Regions from separate parts of the Homo sapiens genome. Here all the other regions are linked to region 3. Evidence: promoter capture Hi-C in 16 types of primary human blood cells and fetal thymus (Javierre and others, 2016). All regions are on one chromosome and are shown on one strand. The core of a region is centred on a gene start or on the middle of the fragment in contact, and the rest is flanking DNA. Distances in the headings are between cores, read along the strand shown.

Evidence for each region. The method cuts DNA at HindIII sites, captures the fragments that hold promoters and counts their contacts. A CHiCAGO score of 5 or more calls a contact.
Region 1: a contact is called between a fragment that was not itself captured here and the fragment with the promoter of ECPAS in region 3, in 1 of 17 cell types (total CD8 T cells). The highest score is 6.3, in total CD8 T cells.
Region 2: a fragment that was not itself captured here is called in contact with the fragment with the promoter of ECPAS in region 3 in 2 of 17 cell types (non-activated CD4 T cells and activated CD4 T cells); the score reaches 8.7 in non-activated CD4 T cells.
Region 4: a fragment that was not itself captured here is called in contact with the fragment with the promoter of ECPAS in region 3 in 1 of 17 cell types (non-activated CD4 T cells); the score reaches 6.3 in non-activated CD4 T cells.

The regions. Positions count from the first base shown.
Region 1 is chr9:112,490,733-112,493,432 of GRCh38, reverse strand. The region is part of intron 1 of KIAA1958; the gene reads right to left. Among named protein-coding and RNA genes, the nearest start is that of HSDL2-AS1, 4.4 kb to the right of the region's middle. The HindIII fragment of the contact is 3,067 bases long and covers 1-2,700 here.
Region 2 is chr9:112,747,148-112,749,847 of GRCh38, reverse strand. SNX30-DT (SNX30 divergent transcript) reads left to right here. Exons shown (of 1, transcript NR_186503.1): 1 at 1-964. It also overlaps a transcript of SNX30 not described here. Among named protein-coding and RNA genes, the nearest start is that of SNX30-DT, 2.1 kb to the left of the region's middle. The HindIII fragment of the contact is 1,522 bases long and covers 629-2,150 here.
Region 3 is chr9:111,482,992-111,485,691 of GRCh38, reverse strand. It overlaps ECPAS (Ecm29 proteasome adaptor and scaffold), which reads left to right and starts at 1,309. Exons shown (of 50, transcript NM_001364929.1): 1 at 1,309-1,576. RefSeq lists silencers at 1,210-1,749, 1,870-1,989, 2,260-2,679. The HindIII fragment of the contact is 4,796 bases long and covers 1-2,700 here.
Region 4 is chr9:112,730,313-112,733,012 of GRCh38, reverse strand. No RefSeq gene overlaps it. Among named protein-coding and RNA genes, the nearest start is that of INIP, 14 kb to the right of the region's middle. The HindIII fragment of the contact is 1,531 bases long and covers 499-2,029 here.

The DNA.
Region 1 (2,700 bases), core at 57-2,556, 1.0 Mb before region 3:
TGGAAGGTGGTACCAACTCACTGAGCTAAGGAATAAAAGAAAAGACACAGATGTGAAGAGGACAATAAGTCTGGGGCATGTTGAATGTGAAATGCTTGTGGAAAATTAAGTGAATATATCCAGTCGTAGTAGGACACAAAGATGTGGATTTCAGGAGAAAAGCCCCGACTAGATATTAGATTCAGGAATCATCAGACATGCGTGAAAAGAACAAATAGTGCATAACTTACCATGAGAGCAGCAAGACCAATAGCTGAAAAAAAAAAAGCACTAAAAGAAACAAGTCCTCAGAACTCAGAAGAAAATAACAGCATTAGCACTTCCACTGAATTTGGCCACAATAATATTCTCCAGTATTCCAAAACAACTATTAAGAATTTTGGCCAGGCACAGTGGCTCAGGCCTGTAATCCCAGCACTTTGGGAGGCCCAGATAGGAGGATATCATGAGCCCAGGAGTTCAAGACCAATCTGGGACACACAGGCCTCATCTCTACAAAAAAAAAAAAAAAAAAAAGTGAGCTGGGCTCTGGGTGTGCACCTGTGATCCCAGCTACTCAGAAGGCTGAGGTGAGAGGACTGCTTGAGCTCAGGAGGTCGAGGCTGCAGTGAGCTGTGATCACGTTAGTGCGCTCCATCCTGGGCAACAGAAAAAGATCCTGTCTCAAACAAACAAAAAAAGGATTTTGTACTTTAAGTCATTAAAAATAAAGCATTTAAAAACAATGAATATGAAGAGTGAAAAACAAAAAGCCTTTAGCTACTTTATTTTTAATGACTATATATAGAGTTGATCATATTGCTATGTATTGGGGCCTGGGATTCAAGTGAAAAATTGCCAACAAAATCCCACATGTGGAGTGAGGTATGTATGTACATATGTAGGTAGGTAGGTATACATGCATGAAAGGCAGTAGGTAGAGGGATGGACTGTGTTATAGGCTGAACTGTATTCCTCTCAAATTCATCTGTTCACATCCTAAACCCTGGTACCTCAGAATGTGACTTATAGGGGAAGTAAGGCCTGGAATAGAGGTAATTAAGGTAAAATGAAGTCATATGTGTGTGCCCTAATCCAATGTAAGTGATGTTCTTAAGAGGAAATTAGGACACACACATACACAGAGGGAAGACCAAGTGAAGCCACCTTAGGAAGACAGCCATCCATCAGCCAAGAGAGGGGCCTTAGAAGAACCTAACCCTGCCAACACTTTGAGCTTATACTTCTAGCCTCCAGAATTGTCAGAAAATAAATTTTTGTTGTTTAAGACAACCAATCTGTGATTCTTTGTTATGGCAGCCCTAACAAATTAATACAAGCTGAGAAGAGGAAGTAGTCCTAGCTGGTTAAGAATTCACACATATTGTCAACTCCGTCCCAGAAATATGAAGTCCTATAACAGAAAAAAGGATAGAGCTTTTGATATATGGTGATTATGCCTTAAATCATGCAAGGAAAATATTTTTAAAATAATAAGTATTTCCAGAGGAAAATATAAGAAAAAACTGAAGGGACAGAATATTTGCAATTAAAAAAGGACAGAAAAGGTTAAAGCAGTATCAGTTTTGAAGAAAACCAAGAATAAAAAGAGAAGCCAACCAAGAAGTATCCTATGCATGAAATGAAAGTTAACCAAAGAGTAAATGAATCATCTAAAAACAATCCAGAGAAGCAAGGGAAAGCAATGGAAGCAACTTTGGATAATTATTTAGAATTAAAAAGAGTTATGTGTATGTTAAGTTCAGCTAATGAAATCCTTGATGATTAACAAACAAAAAACATTTTCAGGCATCAAGTGAAAATATATTTCCAGTAGGTTTTAATGGAATTTTGGTTCTTTGCAGGTTTCTTAAGGAAAAAAAAAACAAAAAAAACAAAAAAAAAAACCAGCTAATAATTACTAGCCATTCCATACATATTACTTTTTGTCCTATCTCTGGAGCTAAAGAGGCCATAGATTTCCAGAGGAGAGTAAGGTGAAGGAGAAAGCTATTCTCTAACTTGCAGCAACCAAGGGGGGAGCTACTCCCTGGTGCTAGGTTGGCCAAAGTTCATGCAGAGAAGAAAAAAAGCTAGAGTAGAAATTCAGCATTTTATGGTAAGATTTTTAATGTTTTTAAATATTGCTTCAACGTTTTAACGTCTTCTTAAACTTTTTTAAAGTTATGGCTGGACGTGGTGGTTCACACCTATAATCCTAGCACTTTGGGAGGCCAAGGCAGGAAGATCATTTGAGTCCAGGAGTTCAAGACCAGCCTGGGCAACACCGCAAGACCCCATCGCTACAAAAAATAAGAAAAATTAGCTAAGTGTGATGGCACGTGCCTGTAGTCCCAGCTACTTGGGAGGTTGAGATGTGATCCTTTGGGCCCAGGAGTTTGAAGAGGCAGTAAGCTATGGTTGCACCACTGTATTCCAGCGTGGGTGACAGAGTGCGACTGTGTCTCTAAAAAACATAATGTTATATCTCACATCAAAGTTGTATAATTTCTTTTGATACATAATGTTACTTCCTTTCAGTATAAGAATATCACTGTTGTCCTAGACCAAGATTCTTTGCTTTCCATATTATTTTCAAGTGTAATAACATGTTTCTGAAATACATCTTCTTTGTCACTAGAGCCATTAGCATTACCACTATGAACACTAACGGTGAAAAAGCTCTCCAACTGTTTAAGTGTAAGACTTTGCAAAACAAAC
Region 2 (2,700 bases), core at 140-2,639, 1.3 Mb before region 3:
CATCGTGAGGGACCACATTTTCCCTACCCATTCCAAACTCAAAGGTTTGCCTAGCCTTACCTGCTAAAAGGTGATGACAGATGTTGACTCTGGGATTCACTAAGGCCTCTACCACAGTTTTCTCTAGAAACAAATAGAAGAGAATGCAGAGGGTTGAAATCTACCCAAAATATCAGTCAGAGACTCTGAGCTTCAAAGACCTTCCCCTATTTCCCCCAATGTAATTTATATAGGGTTGGACCCTTAGTCCTCAAGCTATCATCTTTATCTCCTCCACATAAGCCTGCCTTGGCTGGGAAAAGTAGCATTCAAAGGGCACTGGGAACAATTTTAAATGCTGCATCTAAGGAATGCCAAGTTCTGGTCCTCTTGGAGTTGGATTAAAATTGTTAACACTTTCACATTCAAGGGCTGCTTACAACTACTACAGACCCTATTATCTGTTCTTCTGAATTAGCATGAAAATGAATAGCACAATATAACTAGAAATGAGTATTTCTAGAAATGAGTATATACATCTATAGATGTATAACATCGGTTTTTCTTATTGAATGGTGCTACTTATTTTAACAACCAGGCTGCCTTAAATATAATGGACATCCGTATGGATTAAGACTCTATACAAGCTTTCTCTTTAGTACACCAGGGGAAAGTGAAAAAAGAACCACATTTGAATTCGGCTTTGTCACTACAAGTGGGTGACCATGAGCAAGTTACTAACCTCAGTGAACCTGTTCCTAACCTAAAAAGGAGGAGAATGGAGAGCAGGTAATAATACCTTATGAGATGGTTGTGAGAGTTATATAGCATTCTTTATGTCATAGTCCTAGCAAAGTGCTGGCATAAAATAGGTGCTCCCTAAATGTTAATTACCTACCTTCCTTTCCCTTTCTGTCAGATTTTCTCTACTATTCTTATGAAATAATAAAGAGTTTTTGTAATTAAATATGCTTTACTATTCTGAGTAGGGTCTGGTTGAATATACATATATATACACACACATACACACCAGGTAGGGTGCCTCACACCTGTAATCCCAGCACTTTGGGAGGCCAAGGTGGGAGGATCACTTGAGCCCATAAGTTCAAGACCAGCTTGGGCAACATAGTGAGAGCCCCATCTCTATAAAAAATGTAAAAATTAGTCCGGCATGGTGGCACATACCTGTAGTCCCAGCTACCCAAGAGGCTGAGGTGGAAGGATTGCTTGAGCCTGGGAGGTTGAGGGTGCAATGAGCTGAGATTGCACCACTGTACTTCAGCCTGGGCAACAGAAGGAGACCTTGTCTCAAAATAAAAAAAAATATATATATATATACATATATATGTGTGTGTACATATATATGTGTGTATATGTGTGTGTGTGTGTGTGTGTGTGTATTGACCTCCAAAGTCCTCCATTTGCTCAGTTTAGATTGGAGTACCACTTTTCTATGCTCCCACCAAAAAAAGGACCCAGACCCAGAGTTCCTAAAAGGCCATATGAAATAGTTGATTACAGTTTATTTATTTATTTTCCAGTTTCCTGGTTGGTCGATAGCAGCTGGCCACAATATCCAGTGGGTAGTCATCAAAACTAAAGAAAGTGAATTTGTATGGAAAGTATTTTGGTAGAAAGTTTCCACGATGAAATTTAGCCCAGCCCTGCCCATTCATATTCACCATTTCCTGTGGTATTTCAGTGTTCCTTGTGGTGGGAAATTGTCACTGAAATAATATAAGTGTCCCAGAGCATGTGACTTTGCTTCTACTAAAAGGTTTTGTTTTTTTTTTTTTTTTTTCTTGGAGACAGGGCCTTGCTCTGTCGCCCAGGCTGGAGTGCAGTGGCGCAATCTCAGCTCACTGCAACCTCCGCCTCCCAGGTTCAAGCGATTCTCCTGCCTCAGCCTCCACAGTAGCTGGGATTACAGGTGTGTGCCACCATGCCCGGCTAATTTTTGTATTTTTAGTAGAGACAGGGTTTCACCATGTTGTCCAGGCTGGTCTCAAACTCATGACCTCAAGTGATCTGCCTGCCTTGGCCTCCCAAAGTGCTGGGATTACAGGCTACTAAAAGTTTTAAAAGCAGCATGGTGGTAAGGAGGAAACGTGTAACGTTTCTCCATCAGAGCAGAAGGCTGTGGTGTTTGTTGGAACTTATGGAGGGAAGCTTGGATTTCTAGGGTTGAGCTCTGAGGAAGATAGTAGATGTATGTGTGTGCATGAGGGGCGAGGGAGGTCCCCAATGCCACCAGAACCCAAGAACACAGCATGGAGCCCTCCCAATTCATAAGGAATCTTAGACACTTAGGCTGGCACCTTTCAGGAGACAGGGCTTTGGGCCCCAGAATTTAGTACGCTTACCAAACAAATCCTATCGACCTCACTAGCAAGCGTATTGGGGCTGCCTGTGAGCACCCAGACCTCAGAAACAAAGCAGTCTCAATGCATCATTCGCTCATTCTTTCCCCTGGTACAGCATGTGCTTAGGCCTTCTTCATGTTTGTGTTAGCCGCTTATCCTCTGGTGGTTTTTAGTACAATCATAGCTTTATTCTATATGGCATCCCAAGCCCTGCCTCAGAATAACACCACCACTTCTGAAGTGGACGGCTGGTGAGGACAAAGGACGTTTTCAGAGAGCATTCAGGATGACATGTCGCAAGCCACAGAGGGCTGTATCAAACAAGGGGGGCAAGTGAGAAGGCACAATCCCCAACAGA
Region 3 (2,700 bases), core at 60-2,559:
AGAGGAGCATACATGAAAAAAGGGGTTGGTTAACTTAGTGTAGTATGAAGTTACAAACAAAAAAGGGTGATGGTAGTGCAGTGTTTTGAATTAACATGGAACAATGTGTGTGAAGGAATAATTGATCCAGAACTTTATTGTAGAAACCTGTCCCCATCAAAGCCATACATGGGGCTGTATATATATGTCCAGAGAAAAGGTCTTCTGCACACTTAACTGTAACTGTTAGTCATAATTTCTCTGCAGAGTGGGATGGTGGGGCTAGGAGGAAGGACTTTCACTTTTAATTTTATGATACTCCAAATCATTTGCATTTTTTTTTTACAAAAATTATGTATAATTTTTCTTTTTTTTTTCTTTTTGAGACGGAGTCTCGCTCTGTCCCCCAGGCTGGAGTGCAGTGGTGCGATCTCGGCTCACTGCAAGCTCCGCCTCCCGGGTTCAAGCGATTCTCCTACCTCAGCCTCCCGAGTAGTTGGGATTACAGGCGCGCGCCTCCACGCCCAGCTAATTTTTGTATTTTTTAATTAGAGACAGGGTTTCACCATGTTGGCCAGGCTGGTCTCGAACTCCTGACCTCGTGATCCACCCGCCTAAGCCTCCGAAAGAGCTGGGATTACAGGCGTGAGCCACCGCGCCCGGCCCAAGATCATGTATAATTTCTATAACAAAAACAATAAAGGAAATAAAAATGTCTTCAGTGTTGTACCTTGTACTTGGCCTATGTTACAACAGGAATGACATATATTCCATTTTTAAGACATTACTTAGGGCTTTATAGATTTCTGCTTTAAGGAATAAATGCAATTTCAATCTATTTAAGACTTGATTTCTTCTTATATAAAAAAAGTATCTGATCTTGTATCTAATTTGTTATGACAGTACCATCACTTAAAGTACAGCAATTATGCAACCCCTGAATTTGAATTTCATTTTGCAAGTGTACATGACCTCACGGACAAAGCGAAGGCAGAAAGTTAAAATCAGCATATCGAAAATAAATCACTCTAGTTACCGAAAAGAACATAGGGTATCTGAACAAAATCTCAGAGCTCACATAGGCATAGATACTTCCATGTGAACTTTAGGAATCTTGCCTTATCTAACTTTTGCAGGGCTGAGTGGACCCCCTGCTCCCGCTAGCCGTTTTGGGAGCACCAGCCACCTCCACACCAGAACTGGGCTGTCGGGGGCCGCTGCGGCGCAGGGGCTCGTCCGGGACTGAGTCAGCGCCGGGGCCGAGAAGTTCGGCGGGAGGCGCAGGGCGGGGCTTCCTCCCGCCGACTCCGAGCCCGGCTCTACTTTTCTGAGTCCACGTCTCTTCCTTTGGACAGGCGTGTTTCCCCAGGTCGGGCCCAGCCAACGTGACAGCCGCAGACCTCGGAAAAGGGCGCTCCGGCCCCGCCTCGAGGATTTCCCCCGGCCGCTAGGGCAGCCCGGGCCCGCTCGGCCCAGCCCCTCACGGACTGCGGCGCGCGGCTCCCCGGGGCCCGGCCCGCCGAACGCCTCGCTCTACAGCCCTCACCTCGCGGCGCCGAGCGCAGCGTCCGCGGCATGGAGACCGGCTCCGACTCAGGTCAGAGGCCCGCCCCCGGGCCGCGGGGGACTGGCCCTGCGCGCGCGGCGGCGCGGTTAGGCCGGGCCGCCCGCACAGGCCGCCGCGTGTCGAGTCCGCGCGGGGAGCGCACGCGGGGCGGGCGGCGACAGGTGGGCAGGACGAGCCGCGAGCGAGCGAGGGCGGGCGGGCGCGCGAGGGGCCCGGCGGGGGGGCCGCTGGGAGGATGGCTCAGCTCTTTCTAAATATAAAACCGGCGTGAGTTGGGCGAGCGCGGCGCGGAGTCGCAGAGCCGCCGCGCGGGCCTGGCGCACGGGGATTCGGCCGCACAGACGGCGGCGGCGGCAGCGGCAGCGGCTCCGCAGAGGCGCGAGGCTGCGGGAGCGCCCGAGTCGCGAGCTCGCGGGGGCAGCGAAGGGCGACGCTCGCGACGCGGAGGACGCAGGCGGCGGCGGCGGGCGGGCCTCGGGGCACAGCGCGGTCCGCGCCGAGTGAACGGAGGCGGCTCGCGGCCCCTGCCGCACCGCGAGCCGCGAGCCCCCCGGCCGCGCCCTGCCCCCCCAGCCCCTCCCTCGTTCCCTCCCCGGCGCAACATGGCTGCGGCCGCCGCCTCCGCCTCCCAGGATGAGCTGAGTAAGTGCCGCGGCCGAACCTGCGGCCGCGAGCCGGAACGGGCGCCGCGCGGTGCCGGGGGCCGGCGGCCGCATGAGGGCTGGGGCGCCAGGCCCGGTGGGCGGGCGGCGGCCGCGGCGTACGGGGAGCTGGGGAGCCCGGGCCTGGCGGACGGGCGGGGCGCGGACCGTCGCCGCTGGCGTTTGTAGGCCTCAGGTTTGCACCGTCACGTTGCGAAATTGAAACCGGAGCCCCGGGCGGAGCCACCTCTGCCCGCGATCCGCCCTGGCCCGGGGTCGGGGGAGCCCAGCCCCCTGCCCACTGAGCCTCGGCTGGCGGGAGGGCCGGAGCCCCGGGGTGACGGGCAGTGTCCGCCCGTCCCGTCTGACCCCGCCTGGCCCCGGGTCCCCGACGGCTGGTTGAGTTATAGAAATGGAGCTTTCGGGAAGGGGGAGAAGGTGCCTTTTTGTGACACTCTAGTAATCAGCCGAAAGGTCACGAATAGGCGGTGACCCTCAGATGGAGCAGGGAGG
Region 4 (2,700 bases), core at 15-2,514, 1.2 Mb before region 3:
AACTCCTGACCTTAGCTGATCCACCCACCTCGGCCTCCCAAAGTGCTGGGATTACAGGCATGAGAAGCTACCTTCTCCACTGAGAGCTGCAGAGACAACCTGTCTGCAGAGGGGAGCCACCCTCTCCAGGGCCTCCTCTCTACTGAGAACTGAACACTGGACACATGACCTGCCTACAGAGAGGAGCTGCCCACTCTGGGTCTCCTCCAAGCTGTTGTAACACTAAATAAAGCTCTTTGTCTTGTTCACCTTTCACTTGTCTGTGTACCTTCTTCTACCTGGACACAGGACAAGAACTCGGGCAAAGGTGCTGTGACCACAGAGGTTTCTGGCCAGAAAATTGACACCCCAAAGATCCCATACACATTCAGTCCATAATACATAAGATCAATTATCACAGAATAGTAGGATATTTTTAACTTTGTCATAAATTATATGTATTGCAAATTGTATTATCTTAATACAATATATTTGTTACTAGAGAATCAGTATCAAGCTTCACTTATGTTACTTATAAACCTATATATATATACACACAAATATAACAGGAATTATCAAATATTTAATATTGCAGAAATAGTTCCTTAGCCAACAGTGCAACTGTTGTGAATAGTGAACTAATTCTGACGAGCTCCAGAATCACAAATGAGAATAAGGAAAACAGGAAAATGGACTCTCACTAAAGGGAAACAATTCTCGGTTGTGCACAATTCCACTGAATTCCTCTGATCTGAGAGGAGGTATTTGGAAGTTAATAATTTGCCTTTTCTCTTACCTAAGTTCTGCTGCTCAACAATTCCCGGCACTAAAATGCACTGTCCATTTCTGACCTCGACAGAGGCATAACTCGTAAACCTTCACAGCAGTCCAACCCAGCCGCCTTTCTTTCAAGAACACAGGGCAAGAGGTGTTTCCACAGGGTATAAATGGTGTTAGTCACAGAAGCAGACGTTCAAAGTTCCAGGTTGTTCTGTGCCAGAGCCAAATGCCAGATCCCAAGCACAGAAGTTCTCATCTGTCCTTTAACAAATTTATGTGCTCGCGTGTGTGTACTGGATCCTCTAAAATGTGGCGGCAAGAGTCCCTCCTGTTTGCTTAGGTCTATGGGCAATACTGAGCCTAATGAAGCCCAAATGACTTCATACTGTGCTATATAAATGAAGAGTTTATAATCTTTTGAATAGAGGAATCTGGTGGGAGAACTGAGGTACCATGGGGCATGCAGTGATATAGGCAAGCAAACCCAAAGAAATGCATGCCGTCGCTAAGGGCATCCTCTTTACACTGTGAATAGCGATTGCATTTGCCAAAACATCAATTGTCACATAAAATGTATTAGCTAGAATGTGTCTGTTTTGTGGGTTTGGTTGTGTTTAAGTTGTAAACCTAAATTCCAAACAATTCTTAATTTTGAGAAACATCATCATATTTATTTTGGAAATCTTATAAAGGTGAATAATCTTCATATGCAGACACAGGACTAGTGTTGACTGACAACTGTTAGAAATGGATGATCAAAACTTATCATTTCTGTTGCCAATTACTAAAAGATTTCTCAAAATAAAGCCGGGCATGGTGGCTCACGCCTGTAATCCCAGCCCTTTGGGAGGCTGAGGCAGGCAGATCACCTGAGGTTGAGAGTTCAAGACCAGCTTGGCCAACATGGTGAAATTCCATCTCTACTAACAAATACAAAAACTAGCTGGACGTGGTGTTGCATACCTGTAATCCCAGCTACTAGGGAGGCTGAAGCAGAAGAATCGCTTGAACCCAGAAGGCGGAGGCTGCAGAGAGCCAAGATTGCACCACTGCATTCCAGACTAGGTGACACAGCGAGACCCTGTCCCAAAAAAATTAAAGATAAAATAAAAAAATTTATCAAAATAGATGATTTCTTTTAAAATGTTCTAGGAGAACTACATACTAAAAAGAAGCTACATAAGTGGCAGCAAGAGAGACAAGCATGTTATTAATTCAGAGCTACAGTCCCACATTTAAGTATTAGAAGGTAGATACTGAGCAGGAAGCTTCCTTTCCAACAATGGTGAGGGGGCCTCTCTGAACCTATTCTGATTCAGGGGCTGCCCAATACAAAACTAAAGATTTTTTTAAAATTTAAAAATAAAGGGAAAATACCTGTAAAATACTGCATTTTAAGCTCTTCTAAGAGGCAATATTAGCTAATGTCAATGCAAAATGTTATCTAACTTGTCTTTTCATCCACACTGCCCAACATGGTGCCTTGCACGTAGAAAGCCCTTAATAAGAAAGCAAATTGCAAAAGGATATACGGTTGACCCTTGAACATCATGGGCTTGAACCATGTAAGTCCACTTATACAGGGATTGTTTTACAACCAACTGCAGATTGATGCTACAGTGTTCATAGTATGCAAAACCCGCGTGTATATACAGAGGGCTGACTTCTATACGTGAGTTCTTCAGGGCTGACTAACAGACTTGAATATACTCGGATTTTGGTATACGAGAGGCTCCTTGAATCAATCTCCCACATGTACCAAGAGATGACTATGTATATATATATAGATAGATAAATAGCTCTCTCTCTCTCTATATATATATATATATGGTGTATATATGTATATAGTATTTATATGTATATATTATGTCAGCATTTTTATAAAGTTTTAAAACATTTACAACAATGTAATTTTAAGGGATTTAATGTAGTACAAATTTT